Regions from separate parts of the Homo sapiens genome. Here regions 2 and 3 are each linked to region 1. The links are contacts of gene promoters, found by promoter capture Hi-C in blood cells and fetal thymus (Javierre and others, 2016). All regions are on one chromosome and are shown on one strand. Each heading gives the region's core, a stretch centred on a gene start or on the middle of the fragment in contact. The rest is flanking DNA. Distances are from core to core; before and after follow the strand shown.

Evidence for each region. The method cuts DNA at HindIII sites, captures the fragments that hold promoters and counts their contacts. A CHiCAGO score of 5 or more calls a contact.
Region 2: a fragment that was not itself captured here is called in contact with the fragment with the promoter of ZNF441 in region 1 in 3 of 17 cell types (total CD4 T cells, naive CD4 T cells and monocytes); the score reaches 6.1 in total CD4 T cells.
Region 3: a contact is called between a fragment that was not itself captured here and the fragment with the promoter of ZNF441 in region 1, in 1 of 17 cell types (activated CD4 T cells). The highest score is 5.2, in activated CD4 T cells.

What each region holds. Positions count from the first base shown.
Region 1 is chr19:11,764,246-11,768,381 of GRCh38, forward strand. It overlaps ZNF441 (zinc finger protein 441), which reads left to right and starts at 2,755. Exons shown (of 4, transcript NM_152355.3): 1 at 2,755-2,951. The coding sequence starts at 2,949. RefSeq lists an enhancer at 2,916-3,015 and silencers at 3,086-3,225, 3,676-3,785. The HindIII fragment of the contact is 9,985 bases long and covers 1,847-4,136 here.
Region 2 is chr19:12,129,441-12,133,343 of GRCh38, forward strand. ZNF20 (zinc finger protein 20) reads right to left here. Exons shown (of 4, transcript NM_021143.4): 4 at 1,910-3,903. The coding sequence ends at 3,147. It overlaps ZNF625-ZNF20 (ZNF625-ZNF20 readthrough (NMD candidate)), which reads right to left. Exons shown (of 8, transcript NR_037802.1): 8 at 1,910-3,903. Among named protein-coding and RNA genes, the nearest start is that of ZNF20, 9.0 kb to the right of the region's middle. The HindIII fragment of the contact is 1,444 bases long and covers 886-2,329 here.
Region 3 is chr19:12,176,625-12,180,457 of GRCh38, forward strand. The region is part of intron 1 of ZNF136 (zinc finger protein 136); the gene reads left to right. Among named protein-coding and RNA genes, the nearest start is that of ZNF136, 15 kb to the left of the region's middle. The HindIII fragment of the contact is 878 bases long and covers 1,664-2,541 here.

The DNA of each region.
Region 1 (4,136 bases), core at 1,505-4,004:
ATTGGGCATTTTTTTTTTCATTTGCTTGTTGATTACATGCATGTCTTCTTTTGAAAAGTGTCTTTAATCCATCTTGAGTTGATTTTTGTATATGGTTTAAGAAAGGGGTTCAGTTTCAATCTTTTGCATATGGCTAGCCAGTTATCCCAGCACCATTGATGAGTCCTTCCCCACTGCTTGTTTTTGTCAGCTTTGTGAAAGATCAGATGGTTGAAGGTGAGCAGCATTATTTCTAGGCTCTCTATTCTGTTCCATTGGTAATGTGTCAGTTTTTGTAAAAATACCTTACTGTAGCCCTGTAGTATATAGTTTGAAGTCTGGTAGCATGATGCCTCCAGCTTTGTTCTTTTTGCTTAGGATTGCCTTGACTATTTGGGACTTTTTAAGTTATTTTTTTCCAAGAACTAAGTCTTGCATTTGCTAATCTTTTGTATGTTTTTTTTTTTTTTTGTATCTCAATTTCCTTCAGTTTAGCTCTGATTTTGGTCATTTTAGCTCTGATTTTGGTCATTTCTTGTCTTCTGCTAGCTTTGGGATTGGTTTGCTCTTGCTTCTCTAGTTCTTCTAGTTGTGATATTGGGTTATTAATTTCAGATCTTTCTTTTTGATTTGGGCAGTTAGTGCTATAAATTTCCATCTTAACACTTCTTTAGCTGTGCCCCAGAGATTCTGGTATGTTGTATCTTTCTTCTCAGTTTCCAAGAATTTCTTGATTTTGGTGTTAATTTCATTATTTACTCAGAAGTCATTCTGAACCAGGTCATTTAATTTTGATATAATTGTATGGTTTGGGGAGATTTTCTTAGTCTTGATTTCTATTTTTATTGCACTGTGGTCTGAGAGTGCAGTTGGTATGATTTTGTTTGCTTGTTTTTTTAATTTGCTGAGGGTTATTTTATGTCTGATTATGTTACTGATTTTAGAGTATGTGCCATGTGGTGAGGAGAAGAATGTATAATCTGTTGGTTTTGGGTGGAAAGTTCTGTAGATGTCATATCCATTTGGTCAGGTGTTGGTGGAAGGCTAAGGAGGAGCAAAGGCAAATGTTACATGGCGGCAGGCAAGAGAGCATGTACAGGGAAACTGCCCTTTATAAAGCCATCAGATTTCATGAGACTTATTCACTATCACGAGAACAGCATGGGAAAACCGCCTCCATGATTCAATTACCTCCCACTGGATCACTCCCATGACATGTGGGGATTATGGGAGCTGCAATTCAAAATGAGATTTGGGTGAGTAAGTCTCATGAGATCCGATGGCTTTATAAAGGGCAGTTCCCCTGCACACGCTCTCTTGCCTGCCGCCATGTAACATTTGCTTTTGCTCCTCCTTTGCCTTCCACCATGATTGTGAGGCCTCCCCAGCCATGCTGAACTGTGAGTCAATTAAACCTCTTTTTCTTCGTATCACCATGGGTGCCAGCTCCCAGTTAATAACGCTTTTTTTTTGTTTGTTTTTAAATAGAGATGGGGGTTTCACCACATTGCCCAGGCCGGTCTTGAGCTCCTGAGCTCAAGCAATCCACCCACCTCAGCCTCCCAAAGTGGTGGGATTGCAGGCATGAGCCACGGTGCCTGGCCTCATAATGCTTTTATATCTGGTATTCTTCATAAAAATATGAAGATGAATGTTTTCAAATTCAAAGTCTAATGTCTCAGCCTTTGATTGAAGCATTTAATTCAATAACATTTATAGGCTTGATGGAAGGAGCATTTCCACGCTGTGTTTAGGAGACAGGAGGGCAAATTGAACTCCCAGAGTTAAATCCATTAGTGCCCCTGACTCATCCCCAGGTTCTGATCCACCCTAGGGCTCCATTTCAGGAATTATCGTCTGGCCTCCAAGCTTTGGAATATGTTTGGCCTCCTGAAAGTGGTTGACTTGTGAACTGTGTGTGGATGCAGCAGGCTGCTTATCTGAGCTAGTTCAAGTTTTTGCTTTATAAAATATTGCCGCCATATAATTCCAGTTTTTCCACACATTTAACAATTTTATTTATTTCTTTTTTCTTTTTTCTTTTTTTTTTTTTTTGAGACGGAGTCTCCCTCTGTCTCGCCCACTCTCTCACTGCAGCCTCTGCCTTCCAGGTTCAAGTGATTCCTCTGTCTCAGCCTCCTGAGTAGCTGGGACTACAGGCGTGCGCCACCACATCCGGCTAATCTTTGTATTTTAGAGACGGGATTTCACCATGTTGGCCAGACTGGTCTCGAATTTCTGACCTCAGGTGATCCACCTGCCTCAGCCTCCCAAAGTGCTGGGATTACAGGTGTGAGCCACCACGCCCGGCTTTGTTGGGGTGTTTTTATATTCTGCACTGAAAATTAGTAGATTGAGACATAAGGTGGGAGAAAGGCTTGGCCTGTGCAGCCAACAGCCTCATCCAAAACTCCTGATTCCTGGAGGACATCAGCCCCTCCCTTCTGCTGCAGTGTGGCCTGGGCTCCCTTCCTGCTCTCAAATCAGGGGATAGCTCCACTGGACAGTGAGTCTGGAATTTCCTGCACAGACTTGTGGGTCCCTGTCCAAGAGGAAAAAGGAGGAAGGTCAGGACATACTGCCTAAATGCAAATGTCCCCTGGGAGGGGGTCAGGTCACAGCGCAGGGAGGAAGCTAGTCCTCTCAAGGCCTGTCTGGAATCTGTTTATCAGGTTCCACTCCGCTGCCCGAGATCGCTTCTTCCGTTACTCAGTGCCCGGGGGAGGGACCTGGCGCACTATCCAATCAGGGCCGCGGGGCGGGGTCGTGAGAACTGTCAATCAGGCGCACTGACCGGAGGAGGGTGCAAGGTTCAAAGAGCCCGCCGAGTCTTCTCCACGCCCCTGCACTGGGCTCCGGGTTCTGTCACTGAGAGACGCCCTGGAACGTCTGTGGCAGCTTCTGTCTCGCTGGGACCCGCACTGACAGCGGGAGGCAGAGGGAGGAACCTGGACGCCGGAAGCCGGGAAATGGTGAGTGTGTGAGGTCTGGTGTCCCGACGCGTGAGAGGAGAGACTGGTTGGAACCGGCCGGAACCGGCTGTGGTGGCACCAGGTCTTCCCCGCCGGCGACACCCTGGCGCAGCTCGGCCCTCGGTTCCCTCGGCCGCACGATGGGGCTGGGGCGGCAGCCGGGACCCCGGGCGTCCTGTCCCGTCCCTGCGCGGCCACTGCGGCCCTGGCCCTGGAGGCCTGTCTGGGCAGCTCCGCGCCCGCAGTCCTGCGTCTCCCCAGATTGTGCGGCTGTAACCGGCACAGGTTCGCGGCCCGAGTCACTGCACCGAGACGCCGAGGGCTGCAGCAGAAACAGTTTAATAGGGGGAGAGGGGAGGACACCCCAGATCCGCCTTCCTGAGAGGTTTGGGGATGGGGTGTTTAGGGGTGTGGACAGGGGCGGCTGGGGCGTGGGGTCGCTGGATGGTGGGGAAGTGAGGGGTGACTCTTGGGACTGGAGGTGAAGAAACCGCATTCTTCTGCTGAGTGGGTTCCCTTGTGGGGTCTTCAGCCTGGTTGGCGCCAGCCTTTCCGCTGGAATTCAGGATCTGAGAAAGAACTCAGGCGACTCTTGAGCAACTCTCAGAGATCTCATCCCCAAGCACAATGGCGAAGCCGGCGGTCAGCATCTGCTGTGGCCTGACTCTTGGGGAGGCGGCCCCGCGAGGCAGCGGGGCTGAGGGCACCTGGTTAATATCTAACTGCAATCTCGCCTCCAGCCTGGCTCGCAGTTCTGTGAACCCGGTGAGGAGGCTGCACGGTGATGACAGGTCACCAGGCAGACTCGTGTGTGGGGTTTGTGTGTGGGAGGAGTTGTGGTCTGTGTGGTCCCCTGTCCCTTCTTTCTTCCCAAGGGTGACCCGTTCGCCTTCGAGTCTTCCAAAGATGTGGGCAGCAGGGTCTCAAGTCCACCACTGTGTTCTCTCATCCTAACTCCTCCTAGGGCCGACAGAAAATCCCTTGGCTTCCAGAGCCTTCCTCAGGCTTTCTCTCCTCAATTCACAGCAACTTTATGAACTCCTTGTCCCCCAGTTTATTTTTCAAACAGAGGCTAGTATTTTAATTGTCATTTTGTTTATACATAGCAATATATGGCTCTTTGTAAAAGGTTTTGTGTTTGTGAACATTTCACATGAGAGGAAGCAGAGAAAAACCACCAGACAT
Region 2 (3,903 bases), core at 358-2,857, 360 kb after region 1:
TTGGTGATGCTGCAAATAAACTGAGGATTGTAATTATATAAATTACAAGTTTTTCCTGAGAAAAAACACATTTTCAACCTAAGTACATTGATCTTAAAGGATTTTTCCTTTGCTTTTTGACCTTGCTTTGTGAAAAAGTGCAAAAATAAGACATGAATAGTCAAAATAAGAATTTTTGGGCCAGGCGTGGTGGCTCACACTTATAATCCCAGCACTTTGGGAGGCCGAGGTGGGCGGATCACGAGGCCAGGAGATCGAGACCATCCTGGCTAACATGGTGAAACCCTGTCTCTACTAAAAAAAAAAATACAAAAAAATAGCCAGGCGTGGTGGCGGGCACCTGTAGTCCCAGCTACTCGGGAAGCTGAGGCAGGAGAATGGCGTGAACCAGGGAGGCGGAGGCTTGCAGTGAGCCGAGATCGCGCCACTGCCCTCCAGCCTGGGCAACAGAGCAAGACTCCATCTCAAAAAAAAAAAAAGGAATTTTTGGCCAGGCATGGTGGCTCACACCTGTAATCCTGGCACTTTGGGAGGCCGAGGCAGGTGGATCACATGAGGTCAGGAGTTTGAGACCAGCCTGGCCAACATGGTGAAACCCTGTCTACTAAAAATACAAAAAAATAGCCAGGCATGGTGGCAGGTGCCTGTAATTCCAGCTACTTGGGAGGCTGAGGCAGGAGAATCACTTGACCCCAGGAGGCAGAGGTTGCGGTGAGCCAAGATTGCACCACTGTCCTCCAGACTCTGTCTCCAAAAAAAAAAAATTCATATCTCACAAATCAAGGTATTTTCCATATGTCATCACACATAGTTAAGGTTTGGTCAGTCAGTGATTGCTTCTATGTCTGCTGGGACTGGGATTTTTACTCTAGGGAGACTGAAATAAGCTTTTGTGAAGAGAAGCACCCATGACACCTTAAAGGAAATGATCGGATTGTTCCATGCATGACTTTTCCACGATGTCATTAGCTTCATAATATTAGCATAAGAGGGTTCCTGACAAGTTTGCATCAACAGCATGTTACCAGAGAAAGAAAGACTTGATTGGAATAGTGATGCTGACTTTGTTCTTTACTGGGCAGGAAATTCAGTTTTCAAAAACATATTGGCCCCATAGGACTCAAGGTGATTTTTTTAAAAAAGTAGTAGCCAATTGTGGTGGCTCATGTCTGTAATCCCAGAACTTGGGGAGATGGAGACAGAAGAATCACATGATCCAGCAGTCAATGACCAGCCTGGGAAACAGGGAGACTCCATCTCTACAAAAAATAAATAAATAAAATCATAGTATATACCTTGATAAGAAGTGAATTTATAGATTTTAACTGAGGTATGTTATGGTTAACAATGTCCATAAATTGTAGGGAATATATCAGGGTTTAGAGAATAGTATGGTAAAAACTGGTCCAGAAGTCTGATGGCTGGCCTCCCCTCGCCAGAAGGCCGAGTCTTTTGCCCCTGAACAGGCACATGTCATACACCTGCAATGTGAGATGATGCTCTTCAGTGACCATGATGGATCAATACAAAAATAACTAATTCTTGGCAGGGCACAGTGGCTCATGCCTGTAATCCCAGCACTTTGGGAGGCCGAGGCGGGTGGATCACGAAGTCAGGAGATCGAGACCATGGTGAAACCCTGTCTCTACTAAAAATACAAAAAATTAGCCAGGCGCGGTGGCGGGCACCTGTAGTCCCAGTTACTTGGGAGGTTGAGGCAGGAGAATGGCGTGAACCAGGAAGCGGAGCTTGCAATGAGCCGAGATCGAGTCACTGCACTCCAGCCTGGGCGACAGAGCAAGACTCCGTCTCAAAAAAAAAAAAATTAAAATAAAAAAAAACCTCATTCTTTAACCATGTCTTGAAATGTGACAGAAGAAAACACTTTAAATTGCAAACATACCCCAAATTTTTCTCTTCTCACGAAATGTGACTATCTTTTAATATCTCACACATCTCACAGTCATCTATGGCTTTTGGTCATATTCATTACCACAGTATATTATTACACCCTCTTTGACGACACTTATGCCACTGGTGGTCTTTGGTCAGAAGTCACTCATAAGAACATGAGATCACCTTTGGTATTTAGAATAGATGAAAATTCATGATCCAGATAAAAACTAAGAATATAAGCATGAAAAGTAAAATCTACATGAGGAAAAATATGCCTGACATCCACATGGCAACACTGACTCACAGTGACCACCGGATAACATGGTAACATTATCAACTTGATCTAATACATGATGTTAATGGGAGGTTGTAATGTAGCTTCTTCATTAAAAAATAATAATTGTTAGTATGCAGTTGTTATAAACAGTTAATAAGCTTATTTCTAAAATACATGAACAGAAGTATTTGTTGCCAAGAAACCGCATTAGTGTTTTTAGTCAGGTATACTCATACAAAGTTAAAAACGAAGTGAGACATTACATTCAGTTGTGAATAACAGCAAATGCTTGAAATTTCCTGATAAGAGCAAGGTGGCTCTTCTCACATAAAAGCCCTTGGTGAGACCAATCACTGCACAATGCAGCAGAGGAACAAGCTCCCATCTAGTTGGTTTAATCAAGAACAGGCTCGCTAATCCGTAGAAACAACAATGCTTGCAATACAAAGTAGACCTCTTAAACCAACTCAATCTATAGAAGAGTTGGGCATCAGTGAGTATTTCCAGCCATAACAACATTTATTAGTTCTCTGGTAAACATTTTAACATTTCTGAAGAAACAGCAAAGTGGGCATGTATCTTTAATGTGGAGCACTGGGGACATATCTGGAGACCTACAACTCTGAGGAACAGAGACAAGTGATTTGGGGGATATTCTCGATTAACAAGCCAAAGAATCAGGAAAATGGGCTGGAAGCGGGTAGCCACACACCTCTCTCCCTGTGTGGGGCCTCTAATATGTGACTGATGCCTTCCTTTTCTGTGCCTTTGAAATCTCATGCAAGATTGGCTATAGGTGAATTGTATTACGAAACCATCCAAGTTCTTCTAGATTTTATTGTCCTATCGCAAGTCTCTCTTCTCAATTCAAAAAGCAGTTATCCAGAGGTTCTTTCACCACTCTCTTTTCTTGTGTTTCAAAGGAAGTGGGACAACAGAAAGCTTCTCCCGTTGCTTCCACTAAAAGGATTTCTCATCTATTAATGGTATGAGTTCTTTCATGTTCTCGACATGAACTGGCACGAATAAAGGCTTTGCCACATTGCTTGCATTGATAGGGTTTCTCTCCAGTGTGAGTCCTTTCATGATATCGAATGTAATTGGAAATAAAGGCCTTACCACAGTGCTTACATTCATAGGGTTTCTCTCCAGTGTGAGTCCTTTCATGATATCGAATGGAACTGGAACAAGTGAAGGCTTTGCCACATACCTTACACTCATATGGCTTATCTCCAGTGTGTGTCCTTTCATGTATATGCAAGGAAGAGAAATACCTGAATGCTTTTCCACATTGCTTACATTCATGGGGCTTCTCTCCAGTGTGCGTCCTTTCATGTATACGCAAGGAAGAAAAATACTTGAATACTTTTCCACATTCCTTACATTCATGGGGTTTCTCTCCACTGTGCGTCCTTTCATGAATTTGAAGTTGTGAAGCACATCTAAAGCCTTTCCCACACTGCTTACATCCATAGGGTTTATCCTCAGTGTGTGTCTTTTCATGCCTTTGAAGGTCCGAGGTACATCTGAAGGCTTTACCACATTGCCTACATTCATAGGGTTTCTCTCCAGTGTGAGTCCTTCCATGCTTTTGAAGGTGTGAGCCACATCTAAAGGCTTTCCCACACTGCTTACATTCATAGGGTTTCTCTCCAGTGTGAGTCATCTTATGATACTGAATGGAACTGAAAGAAATGAAGACTTTCCCACATTGCTTACACTCATAGGGT
Region 3 (3,833 bases), core at 853-3,352, 410 kb after region 1:
CCTTTCCATGAGTATTAATCTCCTTTTTTGTAACAGATCTCCTAGTGGGTGCTGCGTTAAACAGAGCTGAACAAATAACCCTATCTGCCTGAAGCAGGGTGGGAGACAAGAAACAAGATATAAGTAGAATATGCAGTGTGTCAGATGGTGCTTAGTCCTAAGGAGAGAGAGAAAGCTGGGGAGGAGTGGAGAGGCCTGGGCTGTGTTTGTCTCTGCAAGCACCTGTTTATGTCTCTGAGGTGTTATCTCTGAGGGTTTGTGTGTCTACCTGGGTATGGCCACCTATATGTGCAGTGACAAAGTGTGAGTGATTTTGTATGTCTGATGGGGAGACAGAGGCTGTGTTTGTATGCCCTTTAAAATCTGGAATGCTTTTATTTCATTTTCTTGCCTGATTGCCCTGGTAGCATCTTTTAGCATGTTAAATAGCTGTGTCAAAAACAGACATCCTTGTCTTGTATTTGATCTTAGGGGGAAACATTCAGTGTCACCATCAGTATGATGTTATAGTGGGGTTTTCATGGATACCTTATTTCAGGTTAAGGAAGTTCCCTTCCATTTCCAGTTTACTGAATGTCTTCATGGTGGAAGAGGTATTGAAAGGATATTGACCCTTGTCAAATGTTTTTGATACTGATTCTATTAATATTGTGATTTTCAAATGTGAAAACAGTGTTGCTTTTCTGGGCTACGTCCCACTTAAGTATAGAAGTTTTTGTTTGTTTGTTTTTGTTTTGAGACGGAGTCTCGCTCTGTAGCCCAGGCTGAAGTGCAGTGGCGCGATCTCGGCTCACTACAACCTCTACCTCCCGGGTCCCAGTTCAAGCAATTCTCCTGCCTCAGCCTCCTGAGTAGCTGGGATTACAGGCACATGCCACCATGCCCAGCTAATTTTTGTGTTTTTAGTGGAGATGGGGTTTCACTATGTTGGCTAGGCTGCTCGTGAACTCCTGACCTCGTGATCCACCTGTCTTGGCCTCCCAAAATGCTGGGATTACAGGCATGAACCACCGCACCCAGACTTTTGAAAAATCTTTTTGGTAACAGTCATTCTCGCAGGTGTGATGTCTCATTGAGGTTTTAGTTTGCATTTCCCTAATGATTTGAGATGTTAAACATTTTTTCATGAATGTCTTTGTCATTTATATTTGCTCTTTTCAGAAATGTCTGTTTAGATCCTTTGCCCATTTGAAAAATTGGAGGCCAGGCCCAGTGGCTCATGCCTATAATCTCAGCACTTTGGGAGTCTGAGGCAGGTGGATTGCCAGATCTCGGGAGTCTGAGACCAGCCTAGGCAACATGGCAAAACCTCATCTCTACCAAATATACAAAAAATTAGCTGAGCATTGTGGCATGTACCTGTGGTCCCAGCTACTCCCAGCTGAGGTGGGAGGATGGCTTGAGCCTGGGAGGCAGAGGTTGCAGTGAGCCAAGATTGTGCCACTGCACTCCAATGTGGGTGTCAGAGTGAGACTCAATCTCAAAAATAAATAAATAATAAAAGTTTTAAATTGGATTGTTTTCTTGCTATTGAGCTGTTTGAATTCTTTATATATTTTGGATTTTAACACCTTATCAGATATATGGTTTGCAAGTATTTTCTCCCACTCCGTGTGTTGCCTGCCTTTCCACTCTGTTAATTGTTTCCTTTGCTGTGCTAAAAAGCTTTTTAGTTTGACATCCACATCCACAATGGTGCTGTCAAAAACAGCTACATGGGAACTTGTTTATGTACTCTTTCTGCAGTGTCTGGTTTCACCCAGAACTCTTTTGTGAGATTAAGCACCTTCCTCATATCAGGAAGATTGTGGGTCTTTCCTATTATTCACAGCTGAATCCCTGAGTTAGGTTTGATTGTATGTGATCAAACATAGTATGTATTATTTCCTCAAGCAACATTTTTGGACATGTTTCTTAGAAATAGTTTACTAACTGGTTTCGAACAGCATGTATGCTAACAAATGTTAATGTCTTTTTCATTTGCTGCTAAGTTATATAAAAAATTCCATTGCAATCATGGATCAGATCAACTTTATAATAAACTTTATAATTTTGTGGCGTTATTTGTTAAATATTGTGAATCAGGCGGGGAGGGGTGGCTCACGCCTGTAATCCCAGTACTTTGGGAGGCTGAGGTGGGTGGATCATGAGGTCAGGAGATCGAGACCATCCTGGCTAACACGGTGTAACCCTGTCTCTACTAAAAATGCAAAAATTAGCCGGGCGTGGTGGCGGGCACCCATAGTCCCTGCTACTCGGGAGGCTGAGGCAGGAGAATGGCATGAACCTGGGAGGCGGAGCTTGCAGTGAGCCGAGATCATGCCACTGCACTCCAGCCTGGGCAGCAGAATGAGACTCTGTCTCACAAAAGAAAAAAAAGAAAGAAAGAAAAAAAAAAAAGAAAAATTGTGAATCAATATTCTGTGCATACAATTTTAGGTGTGTTTTTTTCACATAAATTTTCATTTTCATGCTCATGTAGTCACAGTTTTTATCACAAGAATTATTTCTCATTCACTTATGATACCAAAAGTTAAATCAAGCTTTTAACCTTTTTCCAAAGATTATCAGGACCATAGCTCCTGTCAAAGAAGGTATAAAAAAAAGTCATCATAAATATGATAGTAAACCATACGTGACTGTGTGGTGTATCAATAGGAGAGCGCTCAAAAGAATTTCTTTTTTTTTTTTTCTTTTTTTTTTGAGATGGAGTCTCACTCTGTCGGCCAGGCTGGAGTGCAAGTGGCACAGTCTGGGCTTACTGCAACCTCTGCCTTCCAGGTTCAAGCTATTCTCCTGCCTCACCCTCCTGAGTAGCTGGGATTACAGGCACAGGTCACCATGCCTGGTTAATTTTTGTATTTTTTATAGAGACGGGGTTCCTCCATGTTGGCCAGGGTGGTCTCGATCTCCTGACCTCAGGTGGTCTGCCAGCCTCGGCCTCCCAAAGTGCTGGGATTACAGGCGTGAGCCACCACACCCAGCCCAAAAGAATTTCTTCTAGGACGTGTGCTTGCTTCAGGTGTATTGATTGCTATTCAAAGCAAGAAGCTTCTCTGGATTGTATACTATGAAGAAGCAAGGTTATTTCTGGCCTTGGTTATTATGATAGTTCTTACCCAGAAGTAAAAAAGATGGAGTGGCGCTAAGTTTATTACCTAAACACTGAAATATTTCTTATGATGAATTAGACATGGCTTCCCATAAGATACCTCAGTTGAAATATATAAATTCTAACTATTGATAATTTTTTTTTTTTGAGACAGAGTCTGGCTCTGTTGCCCGGGCTGGAGTGCAGTGGCGCAGTCTCGGCTCACTGCAAGCTCCACCTCCCGGGTTCACACCATTCTCCTGCCTCAGCCTCCCGAGTAGCTGGGACTACAGGTGCCCGCCACCACACCCGGCTAATTTTTTTGTAATTTTAGTAGAGACGGGGTTTCACCATGTTAGCCAGGATGGTCTTGATCTCCTGACCTCGTGATCTGCCTGCCTCGGTCTCCCAAAGTGCTGGGATTACAGGCGTGAGCCACCGCCCCCGGCCAACTACTGATAATTTTTAAAAGTCTCCCTTATTAGTCAAATTAGGCTAATGCCTCTAGGAAAGTTGTCAGAATATAAACCTAGCAAGGGACAGAGACATGATCACTATTCTAATCAAGCCTCTCTTGCTCAGATAATATGCTCTTGATGCTAATTTTTCAATATGCCTCATATGCCAGAACTGTAGACTCAGAACATCCAGAATTAAGCACAAATGATGCAGGCACTGAAGGCTCTGATATGGGAACACAAAGTGAATAAATTCTTGAAATCCTGGTGCTTATATTTTTGTG